Regions from separate parts of the Homo sapiens genome. Here region 1 is linked to region 2. Evidence: promoter capture Hi-C in 16 types of primary human blood cells and fetal thymus (Javierre and others, 2016). All regions are on one chromosome and are shown on one strand. Each heading gives the region's core, a stretch centred on a gene start or on the middle of the fragment in contact. The rest is flanking DNA. Distances are from core to core; before and after follow the strand shown. Region 1 overlaps TYK2 (tyrosine kinase 2). Region 2 holds the start of ZGLP1 (zinc finger GATA like protein 1).

Region 1 (3,995 bases), core at 336-2,835, 60 kb before region 2:
TCACACCACTGCACTCCAGCCACACCTGGCTAATTTATTTTATTTTTAGTTTTTTTAGAGATGAGGGGTCTCACTATGTTGCTTAGGCTGGTCTTGAACTCCTAGGTTCAAGTGATTCTCCCGCCTTAGCCTCCCAAAGTGCTGGGATTACAGATGTGAGCCACCATACCCAGCTTTAGATAAAATTATTTATTTCATTTTATTATTATTTTTTTAGACAGAGCCTCACTCTTTCACCCAGGCTGGAGCGCAGTGGCGTGATCTCGGCTCACTGCAACCTCTGCCTCCAGGTTCAAGCAATTCTCTTGCCTCAGCCTGCTGAGTAGCTGCGATTACAGGTGCTCACCCCCACACCCAGCTAATTTTTGTATTTTTAGTAGAGACGAGGTTTTGCTCTGGTGGCCAGGCTGGTCTCAAACTCCTGCCCTCAAGTGCTTCACCTGCCTCAGCTTCCGAAAGTGCTGGGACTATAGGCATGGGCCACTGCACCCAGCCAGATACCATTTTTTTTTTTTTTTTTGAGACAGTCTTGCTGTGTCGCCAGGCTGGAGTGCAGTGGCACAATCTCGGCTCACTGCACCCTCCACCTCCCGGGTTCAAGCGATTGTCCTGCGTCAACCTCCGGAGTAGCTGGGACTAAAGGTGCACCCCACCATGGCCAGCCAATTTTTTTTTTTCAGATCTCACTCTGCCGCCCAGGCTGGAGCTCAGTGGCACGATCTTGGCTCACTGCAACCTCCGCCTCCCGGGTTCAAGCAGTCCTCCTGCCTCAGCCTCCCAAGTAGCTGGAATTACAGGCACATGCCACCAGGTCCAGCTATTTTTTTTTTTAATAGAGATGGGATTTCACCATGCTGGCCACGCTGGTCTCGAACTCCTGACCTCAAGTGATCCACCTGCCTCAGACTCCCAAAGTGTTGGGATTACAAGTGTGCACCCTCGAGCCTGGCCATGGCTGATTCTTTGTTTTGTTTTGTTGTGTTGTTTGAGACAGAGTCTCGCTCTGTCGCCCAGGCTGGAGTGCAGTGGCGCAATCTCGGCTCACTGCAAGTTCCACCTCCTGAATTCACACCATTCTCTTGCCTCAGCCTCCCAAGTAGCTGGGACTACAGGCATCCGCCACCATGCCTGGCTAATTTTTTGTATTTTTTAGTAGAGACGGGGTTTCACCATGTTAGCCAAGATGGTCTTGATCTCCTGACCTCGTGGTCTGCCCACCTCAGCCTCCCAAAGTGCTGGGATTATAGGCGTGAGCCACTGCGCCCGGCCGACAGGTACAATTTTTAAATGACATCAGTAGAAGAAAGATACCCTGGGTAGCTGGTGTGGGAAATTACAGCAAGTCTGGAGACTGGATTGGGGTTGAGGTTTGCATTTGAAGGTGGTGGATGGAGCCCCAGGACATGGAGGGTGCAGGAAGAGCAGGTCTTGGTGACCGATCTGTTTTGGAGCAGGTGGGAGAGGTTGAAGATAAGGACCAAGTTCCTGGTTTGAAGAACTGGGCAGAAGCCACACACCCTGGCTCATAGCCATAATCCCATCAACTCCAGAGATTGAGGTGGGAGGATCGCTTGAGCCCTGGAGGTTGAGGCTGCAGTGAGCTAGGATTGCACCACTGCACTGCAACCTGGGTGGCAAAGAAAGACCCTGACCCTTAAAAAAAAAAGGGCAGAGGAAGGGAAGGTTGGAGTTTGCCAACCACAGATAAGATATGTTGTTTGGAACAAGCCATATCTAAGGGGGGGCCTGTGATGTCCAGGGGGAGACAGCCAGGAGGTGACTGGATGTTTCTTTGGGGCTGGAGTTCAGGGAGACGCCAGACAATTGCAGCAGTTTGTAGAGTTATGTGGGTCAGGCTAGGATTAGTTTTGCTGCAGGAATAAGCAATCCCCCCAAATCTTAATCAAGGTTTACCTAAAATCGGCCGAGCACAGTGGCTCATGCCTGTAATCTCAGCACTTTGGGGGGCCAAGGTGGGCAGATCACCTGAGGTCAGGAGTTTGAGACCAGCCTGGCCAACATGGCGAAACCTCGTCTCTTCTAAAAATACAAAAACTAGCCGGGGTTGGTGGCGCACACCTGTAATCCCAGCAACTCAGGAGGCTGAGACAGGAGAATCACTTGAACCCAGGAGGCGGAAGTTGCAGCGAGCCAAGATCGTGTCACTGCTCTCCAGCCTGGGCAACAGCAAGACTCCATCTCAAAAAAAAAAAAAAAGTTTTACTTAAAATCAAGTACAGGTTGGATGGTTCACCTCTGTCTTACAGCTTCACCATCTGTCACAAGAAGCCTTCATCATACCTCGGGTGGTGAAGGTGGCAAGAGAATTTATTTCCAGGCTTGGAAATGTACCCAGCCCTTTGGCCAGAAACCAGCAGTGCAATTGGCTCCATCCTAGCTGCAAGGGAGGCTGGGAAATGTAGTCCTCCTGTGAGGCCACAGCATGGGCAACATACGCACTGTCCTCTGCCCAGGGGCAACGTGAGACTGAAGCTGCAGGTGGGGGAGGGGGCCTCAGAGGGAGTGTGAAGGCAGACATTGGGTCTGGGGGGTCTTTGGGGCTGACGGTAGCAAATGACGTGACTCCTGACCTCGTTTCTCACCTGATCCAGGTATCACTCCTCCTTGCTTCAATCTCTTTGCCCTCTTCGATGCTCAGGCCCAAGTCTGGTTGCCCCCAAACCACATCCTAGAGATCCCCAGAGATGCAAGCCTGATGCTATATTTCCGCATAAGGTGGGTGGAGACCTTTGCAAAGCTCGTCCCCTCCTGTGCTGAAGCTGGTCTGACTCTGTGCTAAGCCCCAGCTGCGTCCCTCCTTCCTGCAGGTTTTATTTCCGGAACTGGCATGGCATGAATCCTCGGGAACCGGCTGTGTACCGTTGTGGGCCCCCAGGAACCGAGGCATCCTCAGATCAGACAGCACAGGGGATGCAACTCCTGGACCCAGCCTCATTTGAGTACCTCTTTGAGCAGGTATGAGCAGGGCTGGGGTGGCAAGACTATTTGTGGGAGACTTAGGGGCAGTTGAGGAGCCCCCATTTCCCTCCCTGATTCAATATAGCTAATAGGTTTCAACTCATGCTATCTGGGGATCTTTTTTTTTTTTTTGAGACGGAGTCTTGCTCTGTCGCCCAGGCTGAAGTGCAGTGATGTGATCTCGGCTCACTGCAAGCTCCGCCTCCCAGGTTCCCGTCATTTTCCTGCCTCAGCCTCCCAAGTAGCTGGGACTACAGGCGCCCGCCACCATGCCCAGCTAATTTTTTGTATTTTTAGTGGAGACGGGGTTTCACAGTGTTAGCTAGGATGGTCTCCATCTCCTGACCTCGTGATCTGCCCGCCTCGGCCTCCCAAAGTGCTGGGATTACAGGCGTGAGCCACCGCTCCCAGCCGATCTTTTTTTTTTGAAATGGAGTCTTGCTCTGTGGCCCAGGCTGGAGTGCAGTGGCGTGATCTCAGCTCACTGCAACTTCCACCTCCCAGGTTGAAGCGATTCTTCCACCTCAGCCTCCCAAGTAACTGAGATTACAGAAGCCCGCCACCACCCCAGGCTAATTTTTCTATTTTTAGTAAAGACGGGGTTTCACCATGTTGGCCAGGCTGGTCTCAAACTCCTGACCTCAAGTGATTCACCTGCCTCAGCCTCCTAAATTGTGGGATTATAGGTGTGAGCCACCATGCCCAGCCAAGAGTTCAGGTTGAAGGGGATAGAGTGCTGTGATTGATTAGTAATGTCTGCCACAGGCACAAGATTGACAAGAGGAGGGGTGTATGCTGTGTATTTGGCCTTTCCAGTAAATGGTGGTCTCTCCCCTCCTCAAGGTGGTAAGACGCAGGAAATTAGAGTTCTCTGGCTAGAGTAAGCTTGTCCAACCCCTGGCCTGCGGACTGCATGCTGCCCAGGACAGCTTTGAATGAAGCCCAACACAAATTCATAAACTATCTTAAAATATTCTGAGATTTTGCTGTGATTTTTTTTTTTTTTTGAGACAGAG
Region 2 (3,867 bases), core at 723-3,222:
TGAGGCAGTAAGCTATGACTGAGCCATGGCACTCCAGGCTGGGCAACAGAGTGAGACCCTGTCTCAAAAAAAAAAAAAAAAAATCCTGGCCGGGTGCAGTGGCTTACGCCTGTAATCCCAGCACTTTGGGAAGCTGAGGCGGGCAGATCATGAGGTCAGGAGATCAAGACCATCCTGGCTAACATGGTGAAACCCCAGCTCTACTAAAAAAATATAAAAAAATTAGCCAGGCGTGGTGGCAGGCACCTGTAGTCCCAGCTACTTGGGAGGCTGAGGCAGGAGAATGGCGTGAACCCGGGAGGCAGAGCTTGCAGTGAGCCGAGATCGTGCCACTGCACTCCAGCCTGGGCAACAGAACAAGACTCCATCTCAAAAAAAAAAAAAACAAAATCCTAATGCCTGATTCCTTCCCCCACCACACTGACTGCTGAGTCAGCCGGTCCATCCTCCAAGAGCAGTGGAGAGGTGGGGACACATTAGCCCAGCACAGTGATAGGGTCACAGCAAGGGCTCACAGACTGCGGGGAGCCTGCCTGGCCTTTCCCCTCTCAGCTACCTGGCAGCCAAGTCCCTGCTCCTTAATGGTTCTGCATCTCAGCCTGCTAGGGAGTCCCTGGGAAATGGGGCCTCCCAGATGTCCGTTTGTAAACCCTACACACTGGGGAACAGCTAGCTGAGGACATTGAGGACATGACACAGTGCCTGGTACACACAGTGGAGCTGCAGGCCCAGGAGGGAGACGTGAGGCACGTGGTGGAAGAGAGGTCTACTCCTCTACGCCATTCGCATAGCAGCCCCTTCCTGACTCTGCCACTCACCTGCGCCCCCTTCACTTCCCACCCCTAGGGGCCTGTGAAGCCTCCCTGGCCTGCTCCACCTGCCATGTGTATGTGAGTGAAGACCACCTGGATCTCCTGCCTCCTCCCGAGGAGAGGTGAGTGGGTCAGCCCTGTCTAGCTGGCAGCTTCACCCTGGAGCATTCAGCAGCCCCCACCATCCTCCCCACTTCCAGTTCCTGGAATGGGAGCTGCCTCCCCCACCACTACCCCCTGCGCTCAGTCAGCTTCCTCCCTCCCCCACCTCTGGCCCCCCACCCACCCAGCTAGCTTGCCCTCGGCTAACACTGCCCGTGTCACCACCCTAGGGAAGACGACATGCTAGACATGGCCCCCCTCCTCCAGGAGAACTCGCGGCTGGGCTGCCAGATTGTGCTGACACCGGAGCTGGAAGGAGCGGAATTCACCCTGCCCAAGATCACCAGGAACTTCTACGTGGATGGCCATGTCCCCAAGCCCCACTGACATGAACACCTGGACCATTCCACATTGCCATGGCCCCAGGGCCCAGATTGAGGGAATAGCCAGGTGCCAGCCCTGCCCAGAGTGCGGACAGGCCCGGGAGAGACGTGGAAGCCCCTGTGAAGGACAACACCCCTGCTTGGGAGAGAGTCCCATGTCCAGGCTCTGGTGGGGACAGGGCCCCTAGTGGGGTGGCCTTCCCCAGGCCCCTGAGAATCAGGGTTTGAGTAGGAGTGGACTCATATTGGAGCTGCAATAAATCGATAACACAGGCCCCAGCATGTTGAGTGTCCTTGGGGGACAGATCTGGGGTCTACAGGTGGCTCACACCTGTAATCCTAGCACTTTGGGAAGCCAAGATGGGAGGATCACTTGAGGCCAGGAGCTTAAGACCATCCTGGGCAACATGGCGAGACCTCGTCTCTATAAAAACAGTAAAAATTAGCGTGGAGTGGTGGTAAGTGCCTGTAGTCCCAGCTACTCGGGAGACTGAGGTGGGAGGATCACTTGAGCCCAGGGGATTTAGGCTGCAGTGGAGCGGTGATCAGGCCATTCCACTCCAGCCTGGGTGACAGAGTGAGGCCCTGTCTCAAAAAAAAAAAAAACAAAAACAAAAACAAACCACACCTGCATCTGCTGTGCTGGGCCCCCGGTTCTCTTTTCCCTCTGGGATCTAAGATGCCGCTGGGGATCCAAGGCAGAGGCCTGGGAGCCCCCATTTCCGAGGGGGAGGGCTAGCGTGGAAGGCCCCGCCCCGGCAGCTGCGGAGGGATTTGGTGGGGTCCAGGCCGCCCTTGCCACGCAGGGGTGCGCGGATGACCTGAAAAAAGCCAGAAAGAGGAAAGGTGCCGCCGAGGCTGGTCGCTCTCAGCTGGGGCTCATCGCATCCTCTACCAAGAGCGCTCCCACCACACAGGTCCCGCCCCTCCCAGGTGGGTTTCATCGGGTGGGCCCAGCGGGACAGGGCCGGGTGAAATTAGGGAGGGGGCTGGGCTGGGGCGCAATGGAGGCCGAGCCAATCCCGGACTCCTCAATGCCAGCAAAGCTTCTGGCGCCGCCCTGTCTGAACCTGGAGCGGCTGGGAGGATCCCCCTCCCAGGAGAAGCCGAGGACCCCAGGATGCTGCAGAATCAGTGAGAGGTGCGTAAGGCCAAACCCCATTCCCCGGACCCCGCTAGCACTTCACCACCTGGCTCAGTGATCAAGGGGTCATGACCTCTCTTTGCTGGGGTTATCGAGAAGTGGCAATTTTATAATAGTTACTGAAACTTACAAAGAGGTTCTGGTGCCCAGAGACACTTGGGGTCATCTAGGGATCAGAGGCCATGCAATTCCATGTCTCTGGGGCTGATGTAGGCACTCCCCAGGGATCATCCAGGGGTTATGGAGGGCAACTCAATAATAATGAAAATGATAAAAATCGTAATCATATTATGGCAAGCCAGCGGCGTGGTGGCGCGTGCCTGTAAGTCCCAGCTACTCGGGAGGCTGAGGCGGAAGGATCGGTCGAGCCCAGGAGTTCTAGGCTGCACTGAGTCCTGATCACGCCCCTGCACTCCAGGCGGGGGTACAGAGTGAGGCTCGGTCTCTAAAAGAAACACAAAGAAAAAAAGTAACCTTTTTCTCGATCCTGCAGCCAGAGGCTTGATATCCTGCCTCGGTCACCTAGGGCGGTCCCTGCCTGGGTGATCTACGGGTGCCGTAAGGGGTTGATTGATGTGGAGGGCTGGGCGTGCCTGGGAGGCCCACAGTGGGCGAGGTGAGTTGCAATTACTGCAACTCTTAAACCTTCCACCCAGAGTTAGAAATGACTGAACCTCAGGTGGGGTGTGTAGCCTGTCCAAGGGTACACAAAGAGCCGGCCCAAGTTGGAACCCCCTGGCCGGCTAAACCCAGGAGTCACCCAAGAAAACGTGACCCCACTGCCCTTCTCCCCAGGTCCCTCTGGCCTGCATGCCAGGAGTCGGTCACCGCCCTGTGCTTCCTCCAAGAGACAGTGGAGAGGCTGGGTCAGTCCCCTGCCCAGGACACCCCGGTCCTGGGGCCTTGCTGGGACCCGATGGCTCTGGGGACTCAGGGCCGCCTGCTGCTGGACAGGGATTCCAAGGACACACAGACCAGGATCAGCCAAAAGGGCCGCCGTCTGCAGCCCCCGGGGACTCCCTCGGCCCCACCCCAGAGAAGGCCCCGGAAACAGCTGAACCCCTGCCGGGGCACCGAGAGAGTGGACCCTGGGTTCGAGGGGGTGACTCTGAAGTTTCAGATAAAGCCGGACTCCAGCCTGCAGATCATCCCCACGTACAGGTAGGGGCCGGCTGGGGCCAGGCCGCCCTTTCTCCCAGTTACAACGCAAACACCAGTGTGGGAGGTAGGGGTGCTCTCTGGCGTCGGTGTGGACCCTCACCTGTGCTCTACGTTACACGTGGCCCAGTCTCTGGTTGACAACTTGAGCTGGTGCCAGATACAGTCCTGCCGCTCCTGACTCAGTGGCTCCCCACTCCCAATGTGAGACCTGGTCTCTTTAGGAATCAGGCCTGGCCTTGCTTAGGCTGCAGCTGCGGCTGCGGTG

Evidence for each region. The method cuts DNA at HindIII sites, captures the fragments that hold promoters and counts their contacts. A CHiCAGO score of 5 or more calls a contact.
Region 1: a fragment that was not itself captured here is called in contact with the fragment with the promoter of ZGLP1 in region 2 in 1 of 17 cell types (monocytes); the score reaches 5.3 in monocytes.

What each region holds. Positions count from the first base shown.
Region 1 is chr19:10,367,036-10,371,030 of GRCh38, reverse strand. It overlaps TYK2 (tyrosine kinase 2), which reads left to right. Exons shown (of 25, transcript NM_003331.5): 4 at 2,613-2,736; 5 at 2,829-2,976. Among named protein-coding and RNA genes, the nearest start is that of TYK2, 12 kb to the left of the region's middle. The HindIII fragment of the contact is 4,563 bases long and covers 1-3,866 here.
Region 2 is chr19:10,307,920-10,311,786 of GRCh38, reverse strand. ZGLP1 (zinc finger GATA like protein 1) reads left to right here and starts at 1,972. Exons shown (of 5, transcript NM_001409033.1): 1 at 1,972-2,438; 2 at 3,237-3,602. The coding sequence starts at 2,302. It overlaps FDX2 (ferredoxin 2), which reads left to right. Exons shown (of 5, transcript NM_001397406.1): 4 at 847-934; 5 at 1,145-1,742. The coding sequence ends at 1,301. It overlaps FDX2-ZGLP1 (FDX2-ZGLP1 readthrough), which reads left to right. Exons shown (of 9, transcript NR_176052.1): 4 at 847-934; 5 at 1,145-2,438; 6 at 3,237-3,602. The HindIII fragment of the contact is 20,285 bases long and covers 1-2,345 here.